Linked DNA regions of Homo sapiens: region 2 is linked to region 1. Evidence: promoter capture Hi-C in human tissues and cell types (Jung and others, 2019). All regions are on one chromosome and are shown on one strand. Each heading gives the region's core, a stretch centred on a gene start or on the middle of the fragment in contact. The rest is flanking DNA. Distances are from core to core; before and after follow the strand shown. Region 1 holds the start of LTV1 (LTV1 ribosome biogenesis factor). Region 2 overlaps ZC2HC1B (zinc finger C2HC-type containing 1B).

Region 1 (4,277 bases), core at 654-3,153:
TTGTGTAACATTAAGAGTCTTAATAAGTAGAGTCTAACATTAAGTCAATCTTTACCAGGCTCCCTTGCAAAGTTCCCTGAGCTAACCAAGGAGCTCAGATATTTTACATTTCCTAAGATGAGCAAGCAGGAGGCAAAATGCAGTTTGCGGTTATGAAACGGCAGGATCTTAGAGAAAGCACAGTTTGAGCATATATCGGTGCCCTAAATAACATCATGCCGCATTGTAGCTGGTGCTTTGGTAAATATTTACCATTATTCTACAAGATTTGCTCGTTTAAACATCTCAAATAAAGATCTTTGTCTTCCCAATCAAAATAATGTGAATGATGTAAAAATCACCAATTGTACTGAAAATTAACTTATAGATTATTTCCCAGAATATCAGTTATCTGAGAATAACAGCTGGCTAACAATTTATTAAAAACTATTAACATAGCAAGGCGTGGTGGCTCATGCCTGTAATCCCAGCACTTTTGGAGGCCAAGCTGGGAGGACTGCTTAAGTCCAGGAGTTCGAGACCAGCCTGGGCAACGTGCTAAGACTCTATTTATTTAAAAAAAAAAAAAGAAAAAAAAAACTATTGTCTACCTACAAACTGACTGGCTAAAGAACAGGACCTACTTTTTGTGTGGGCAATAGAACCCTCTGGGGTGCACTCTCATCTGCTGCTAAAGGATCTCGTTGGCTCCGGTGGACCAAGTGAAAAGACACAGCTTTCTTCTTCTCTATAAAGGGCTTTTTCTTCCTGTGAGGCTTCAAAGGAACAAAATCACAACAATTAATTAAAACAGAACAAAAAGACGGAGAATAATTCCATAGTCCACACATGCATCTTTAGTAGTCATGTTAAAGATACTTTTTAAAAATCTACACTTCTAGGGCAGGCAACATCAGCTGTGTTCTGCAGAATCCATACTTAACCTTCCTTCAACAAACATTCCTTGAGCACCTACTTTGTGCCAGACCTTGTTATGGGAACTGAGAATACAGAAGTGGGAAAGTCAGATAAAGTCCCTGTTCTTAGCAAGAAAATCAAGATAATTTCCGGTGAAGAAAATATAAGACAGTGACGTGAAAATGCCTTAAAAGCTACTTTACACTGGCTGCTCAGGGAAGGCCCCTGGCCGACTGAACTAGAATGACAAGAAGCCTGCCACAACATAATCTGGAGTAGACAGCTCCACACAGAGCATCTACCAACCAGTAAATAAAATCACGACACAAACAGCTAAAGTTTAATAAGATCCATCACCTCTTTCTACATTCTTACTTCGCTATTCAATTTTGATTCTCTAAACTGGGAAACCAATTAAGTGGCTTTACTTTGGGCCCAACCTTATGCTCTCCCACAAGTTCCCTTTCTCAGAGGAAACAGACAGGCAGACACCTGCCACTCCAACGCTGAGGGAGACCAGCAGCTCCCTCTGCTCGACCCCAAGAAGCACAGGGTTGCGCGTTTGTGTCGGCAGTCACCAGCTTTTAGTTAACCGAAATCACGCAGGGCTGCAGGCTCCCAGGGATAAAACAAAAAGGCCATTCTCCTCTCCGGGCCACATCCCAGGGAGGCTCGGCGGTGGGAGACTGTAACTTGCAAAGAATGCCCACGGTGGTGACGTTGGCCCATTTCGGGGTACCGTGCCGCAAGCAGCCTCTGGCATGACCCAGACCCGGGCCGCAGTAGCCAAGGTATTACCGGAAGCAGCCTGGCCTCTGCAAAACCACAGCGCTCGGCCGCCGAAACAAGCAAGGCTTGCTCACCATGCTGCAGCCGCGCGGCGCTCACCCCCAACAGGGGCGGCGATGACACCCTCGAAGTCCGGCGGGGAGACCAAGGTCCAGCTGAAGGCCGCTTCTGTAGGCCTCACCACACGTGCAGCCCCAGGACCCGGCGATAACGTCACCCAGCCGGCCGTGGAAACGGACCAATCGCCGAGGAGCTGATGGGTCGCGACCGGAAGTTACATAGGCTCGCTGCGTCTCCACGATCGCGAGAAGCCACCGGGAGGTGGGGCTAGCTCGGCTCCCACCCCTGGGCGGGCTGTACTTTTCCGGCCTTTAGTCTCCCGCCGGGCAAAGGGAATCGTGGGGGTCCTTAACGTTGAGGCGCCACAGAGGGGTTTCTGCTTGTGGACGAACCTTTTATAGCTCCCTCTACGGAGACCAGAGGGGACGAATCTAGCATCCCCCTTGACTTGTGTCCCTTACCTATTCCCAACCATAAAAAACAAAGCCGCGGACACGGAAGGGAGGCGACCACCCCGCTGGGGTGCTGGGGTCGCCAAGTTTCAGGTTCCCTCTCCGGGTGGGGGCGGAGTCGGTTGCCGTAGCAACGGAGGCTGGGGCCTTGCCTTTATAGACTGCATCAGACTTGATCAGGTTATATTTTCCACTGTTTCATGAACTGCTTTCATCTGCCCTGTTAACCAAACCCCCGAGACTCTGTTAACTGTAGAGGCATTTGAACTAATAAAATATATTCAGAATCTCTGGTGTTTGAATGTTAACTTTCTCCCCCTGTTTAAACAAATAGGCTATAAGCACGCATTCTTAGGAAGATTTCAGGCCGGCGTTGGCGTACTCACATAGCTTTTCTTGGACGAAAGTGTGTGGTAAATGCAGTCACTTTCATCAGCAGACCTTTTTTTCAAATTTGTTTCCCCAACTTCCCAGTTTCTGGTGACCTCTCAATGAATGGCTTACCCTGGATTGTGTCTTTATGCCGTAGGCATTATCACTGTAAGTATTTGTGGAGTATTATTCTTTTATTACAGTAAAAATTATAGAAATAGGCCAGGCGCGGTGGCTCATGTCTGTCATCCCAGCACTTTGGGAGGCCGAAGCGGGTGGATCACCTGAGGTCAGGAGTTCAAGACCAGACTAGCCAACGTGGTGAAACCCCGTCTCTACTAAAAATACAAAACTTAGCCAGGTGTGATGGCAGGTGCCTGTAATCCCAACTACTTGGGAGGTTGAGGCAGGAGAATAGCTTGAACCCGGGAGGCAGAGGTTGCAGTGAGCTGAGATCATGCCATTGCACTCCAGCCTGGGCGACAAGAGCGAAACTCTGTCTCAAAAATATATATATATAGAAATAATTTAGGTTAGGACCATAAAACTTGTCTTAGGATATTGCTTTGTAACAGAGATAATACATAGCACTCCTATGTGCCAGAGATTCGTTGTTATTATTCATTATATAGAATTAAAAGATCCAAGGGGGCAGTTTTCATTTCCTTTCAATCAGTTGTACTTACTGCTGTATCATCAGGGGCCTGATGCATGGGGCATATATGCTCAGTAAGTATTTATTTAAATGAATTAATGTTCTGGCACTTTATCTGAATCATCTCATTTCATCCTCACTGCAACACTATGAAAGAGACGCAATTATCTTCAGCATCTTACAAATCCTAAAAATGAGGCAAGAGAAATACAAACTAAGTACTAAGCCCCCCAGCTGACTGAACGGACTCCCTTTTGGCCAAGGGGACCCAGAGTAACCTTGAAAACTGAGTTCTTGCTTTGCCTTGTTATATCCCCTCCCTCACTAACCAGGATCAGGCTTTCTTCCCTAAGGGATAAATAGAAACCATCCCTTTCAAAAGACTCCACCACTGATATCAGCCTGTTGCTGCCCTCCGTTTTGTGCGTAACAGACTACCCACTATGGAATGGTTCTGGCCAATCTACGGAGCAGGCACAGTAAGGGTTTTATTGGCCTCTACTTCACCTTTTGACATCAGAGGCTGAAAACTCTTCAGATCATGCTGATGCCCCATTGTTTGTACCTAGGACCCATGAAGGGGCAATGAAGCTCAATTGCACATGTACATGTTTCTCCTTTCATAAATATTCATGATTCCTCCTATAGCTTATTAAATATGTATATTCTGCCACCCTGCTTCCTCTCACTTTGTCCCTCCCTCAGAATGTATGTTTTTGGCTTCAGGCTGGAGGCTACGCTTCCCAGCCTGTCAGGCCACTCTGCAGGCTGAAACCCTTATGCACCTCATCGTTCTTTAGGTCAAAAGCATAAGAAAGTTACCTTCTGATATGGTTTGGCTGTGTCCCCACCTTGGTTTGGTTGTGTCGCCACCCAAATCTCATCTTGAATCATAGCTCTCATAATTCCCATGTGTTGTAAGAGGGACCCAGTGGGAGATAATTGAATCATGGGGGCAGTTTTCCCCATACTGTTCTCATGGAAGTGAATAAGTCTCATGAGGTCTGATGGTTTTGTAAGAGGTTTCCCCTTTCACTTGGCTCTCATTCTCT
Region 2 (4,277 bases), core at 672-3,171, 53 kb before region 1:
ATGTAAGTAATGATATGAACTCTGCTCCAACATGAAAGAACAAGGTCCCAAACTCTGGTTTGAGACTATTCCAAAGGGCAAGACATGCAGGGCTCAACTAAAGGACATGGCATGGAAAAATGTCACAACCTGTGCATTCATTTCAATTGTCTGTCCTTGAAATGTTTAAGTGATGTACTTTTCCAGAAAAACAAAGAAAATTAATCTTAAGAACTTCTCAATGAAATGAATTATTTAGTAAATCCTGTGTAAAGAAAGTAGTTCTAGAATCACAGAATGTTAGTATTGATGGCACAGTAGGGCACAGAATATTCAAAAGCATAGGTTGTAGTGCTGGGTGGGTCTTAGAGAAGTTACAGAGTTACAGAGGGAGATGGGATGTTTCAAAATGTGGGTTTGGGAGATATGAATGGAAGTCAATGGGACTGTGTCACTGGCAGAAAGACATACTGCTTTTGCAGTGGCTAGATTTTTTTTTTCACTTAACTACTAAGTGAGCAGGCAATATATTCAGGAAGGAGATAGTAATAGGATAAAAGGTGAGGACTCAAAAAACAGAAAAGGGAAAGAAGGAGGGATGATAGGAAAGTTCACCGAAAACAGCTTCAGCTTCCAGAGATGCAATGGCCCAGGCAGCTCCTGTCGGCCCCAGGTTCTCTGTGGTTCTGTATAATATCTTTTTTTTCTTCTTTCATTTGCAATTAACAGACATAATTGGTTACGGAGAGAAATGAGAAGTGGGAAACAGGCAAGATCTTCTTAGAATGTGGAGCTGCTCATAGCAAAACTAGGTTGGCAACTACCCCTCTAAATCAAGCAGGGATTGGTGTTTGCTTTGTTTTGTTTCAGGCACCTTAAAGGGATAGCACACTAGATATCAGCAACATAAAATAATCCCACCGCCCCGACCCCAGGAAGGGTGTGAAACTGCATCAACCTCAAACTCAGTGTAGAACTTGTGTTAGTGTATAGTCAAAATTCCTACATGCGTGGATGGGTATTTCATGTAGTGATGTTAAGAATTTTTTGTAAGCCACCTTTTTAAGCAGTTTGGGGAGTTTCCTATTTGAACAAATCATTTCCTAAAATGTATATTCATAAGATGTAACAATTGTTAAGCACTTAGGAATTATCTGGTAGCCTTATCCTTTATTTCTTACTCCATCCAGAAGGCAGTACCTCATCATTAATTTAACACTGACTGAGCATCTACTTGGTGCCAGGTGCTGTCTTACACCTGGGGATGCAATGTCTCTGAAATCAAGGAGTAAGCATTCTAGCACAGAAACAAATAAATAAAAATTTCACACGGAGATAAATGCCTTGAAAAAAAATAGAACAGGACAGCATTGGGAAATGATAAAAAGCCCAGTGCTGGAGCTTGCCTGACTGGTTTTGAGCCTGAGTTCTTTACTTGCTATGTGTGTGAACTCGGGCAAGTTACCCAACCTCCTTAAGCTTCCATTTTCCCAGCACCTACATATCACCTGTTTCATCGGGTTGTTGTGAAAGTTAACTATGAAAATCCACATAAGGGCCTGGCACAGTGGGCGGGGTGGAACATACTAAATGTTTTGTAAATGCTAGCTATTGCTATAAGGAAACAGGTTCAGCAAGGTTGTGTTTCCAACTACCAAATAGAAGTGAAACTGCCTAGGAAAAAAGTACAATAGAAAGTGCCATTATCATTCAGAATTCATTTACAATGGTTTAGAAGAACCATCTAGAACATGGCTTTTAGCTTGGTGGTTATTTCTTCAATTTTGCCAGCTGGAAAGTGAAGTCTTACATAAGAAATGCTGCAACCATAAACCCTACTCACATTAGGCAAAGACAATGATCATGGCAATACTGAGTTGCTTCCTTAATCCCACTTGCTCATTCACTCACTGCCACCCTTCTGTGTTTGGTACTACATATCACCATGGAGACAGCAAAGTTGAAGTCTATTTCCCTGCCAATGAAAATCTCAGAGATGATTAGGCAAACAGACAATTACTGCTTGGTGGGATAAACTGTAGAAGAAGAGGCACTAGGGCCTCTGGGACCCTACAGAAGGAACATAAGGCCCCACCAGAGGGGCAGAGAGCAGGCAGGAGAGAGTCCTGTGGCTGAGCATTCAAGGTTGCTGATTTCTATTTATGTTGAACTTCACATATTTTGAGAATTGTTGTATTTTCTGCAACAATAATCTGAACCCAGCATAACTGAGCTACATGTTCTACACTCAGCTCAATCGGAGTCACCTCTCTTCCTCTATCAATAATGTTTTCATAAAATCACCATGTCCTATTTATTTCAATAGGTAATGATTTTAAAAGTCAGAGTCCAAATGAATTCTTTCGAGGAATATGGTGGCCAGATCTCAGAGAAAAGTGGAAAACCAAGCATTATTTTAAAATGCCAATATTGTGCTGTGTATCCGTGTCTATGTAGCTATGCAAAATGGTAACTGAATGTCCCAGGCCTCATAGAAAAATAACAATTATAAATATTCTATATCACTGTCCCCATAAACTGTCACAGTATCCTAGAAATTTAAATCATTGACAGACTTAGCTAAGTCACTAAAAAGTAGAATATAGGCATGTCTCAAAAACTGAATCATGAAAATAGGGAATCATGCTGAGGAAAAAAGGGAAATTACTGGCACATTCATGCATGTTAGGCCATGTTATATATAACTCTAGTTATATGTATATAAATTCTTTAGTACTGGCCGGGTGCAGTGGCTCATGCCTGTAATCCCAGCACTTTGGGAGGCCGAGGCATGTGCATTACCTGAGGTCAGGAGTTCAAGATCAGCCTGACCAATATGATGAAACCCCATCTCTACTAAAAATACAGAAATCAGCTGGGCGTGGTGGCGGGCGCCTGTAATCCCAGCTACTCAGGAGGCTGAAACAGGAGAATTGCTTGAACCTGGGAGGCGGAGTTTGCAGTGACCCGAGGTCCTGCCATTGCACTCCAGTCTGGGCAACAAGAGCAAAACTCTGTCTCAAAAACAACAACAACAACAAAAAACAAATAAATTCTCTAGAACTTAAGCCTGAGAATTCTGGGCTAATATAAAATCCTTGCACAAACAAAATCATCAAACCGTGGTGAAAATGTTGGGAGTGCATATAATCATTTGGTTTGTTGCATAAAATTATGTTAAGGACACAAGAAAGAAGTTAATTATAAAATTATGTGTTAGCATAGAAATACAAAGAAAAATAAATTGAACATTTGGTGAGGACTTACAAAAGGAATTTTTTTTAGAGAAACAATAATCCCCACATTTTAGATCCAAGTCACGGTTAGATCCAAGTTGGATCTAAAATGTGAGAGAAATTCACACAGCAGGACATCTGACATGGTTTCACTTATTCAATTAAAGAACCATAAGGTAGCCATCAACCCTGTAGTTTCTAATCTTAAAATGAATATATTTCTCATAAAAGATGTTTTTTGTTATATGAAACTTGTTGCCAAAGTACTTACATTATTACTAAAATCACAGCACAGATCTTTCTACTGAATATCTTAAGACAACACATTATTTCAAGATATATTTTCATTAGCACTCAATAAAAGGGAAGCAAATATGAGGATTATTTTCTGGTATAGAAGTTCAGATGACATATTTTTCAGATGATTTTATAGTATGACTACACTGTGGCTTTTTGTTTTTGCACTTTCTTAAATAGTCTTTTTGAGGAATAATTTACACACAACTAAATGCACCTATTTTACATGTACAGTTCAATGAGTTTTGACGAATGTATCCATTTTAACCACCTCAATTAAAATACAGAACATTTTCGTCACCCCAAAAAGTTCCCTCATGCCCCCTTTCAGTCAATATTTTGCAAAACCCAGTCTCAGGCAGCCAATTATCTATTTCCTATTACTATTCATAAGATTTCCCTGTCCTATAATTTCATATAATAGAACATCTATGTTGCTGCATGTATTTCCTCCTTATAGTTGAGTACTAGACCATTTTGTAAATATTCCACAATCTGTTTATCTATTCAATTGTTGATAGACATTTTCAGTTGTTTCCAGTTTACGCTATATGAATAAAGCTATGAACAATCATGTAAATCTTTTTTATGGACATGTTTTCATTTTTTGTATAAATATCAAGAAATGGAATTGCTTTATAGGCTAAGTGTATGTTTAACTTATTAAGAAAATACCAGTGCAGGCCGGGCGCGGTGGCTCACACCTGTAATCCCAACACTTTGGGAGGCTGAGGTGGGTGGATCACGAGGTCAGGAGATCAAGAC

What was found. Contacts are between HindIII fragments. The study calls those that stand out against the background at their distance.
Region 2: a contact is called between a fragment that was not itself captured here and the fragment with the promoter of LTV1 in region 1, in 1 of the 25 tissues and cell types used here (aorta).

What each region holds. Positions count from the first base shown.
Region 1 is chr6:143,840,964-143,845,240 of GRCh38, reverse strand. LTV1 (LTV1 ribosome biogenesis factor) reads right to left here and starts at 1,903. Exons shown (of 11, transcript NM_032860.5): 1 at 1,761-1,903; 2 at 624-755. The coding sequence starts at 1,763. RefSeq lists enhancers at 1,400-1,469, 1,660-1,869, 2,050-2,099. The HindIII fragment of the contact is 16,427 bases long and covers 1-4,277 here.
Region 2 is chr6:143,893,903-143,898,179 of GRCh38, reverse strand. The region is part of intron 4 of ZC2HC1B (zinc finger C2HC-type containing 1B); the gene reads right to left. Among named protein-coding and RNA genes, the nearest start is that of ZC2HC1B, 32 kb to the right of the region's middle. The HindIII fragment of the contact is 3,121 bases long and covers 361-3,481 here.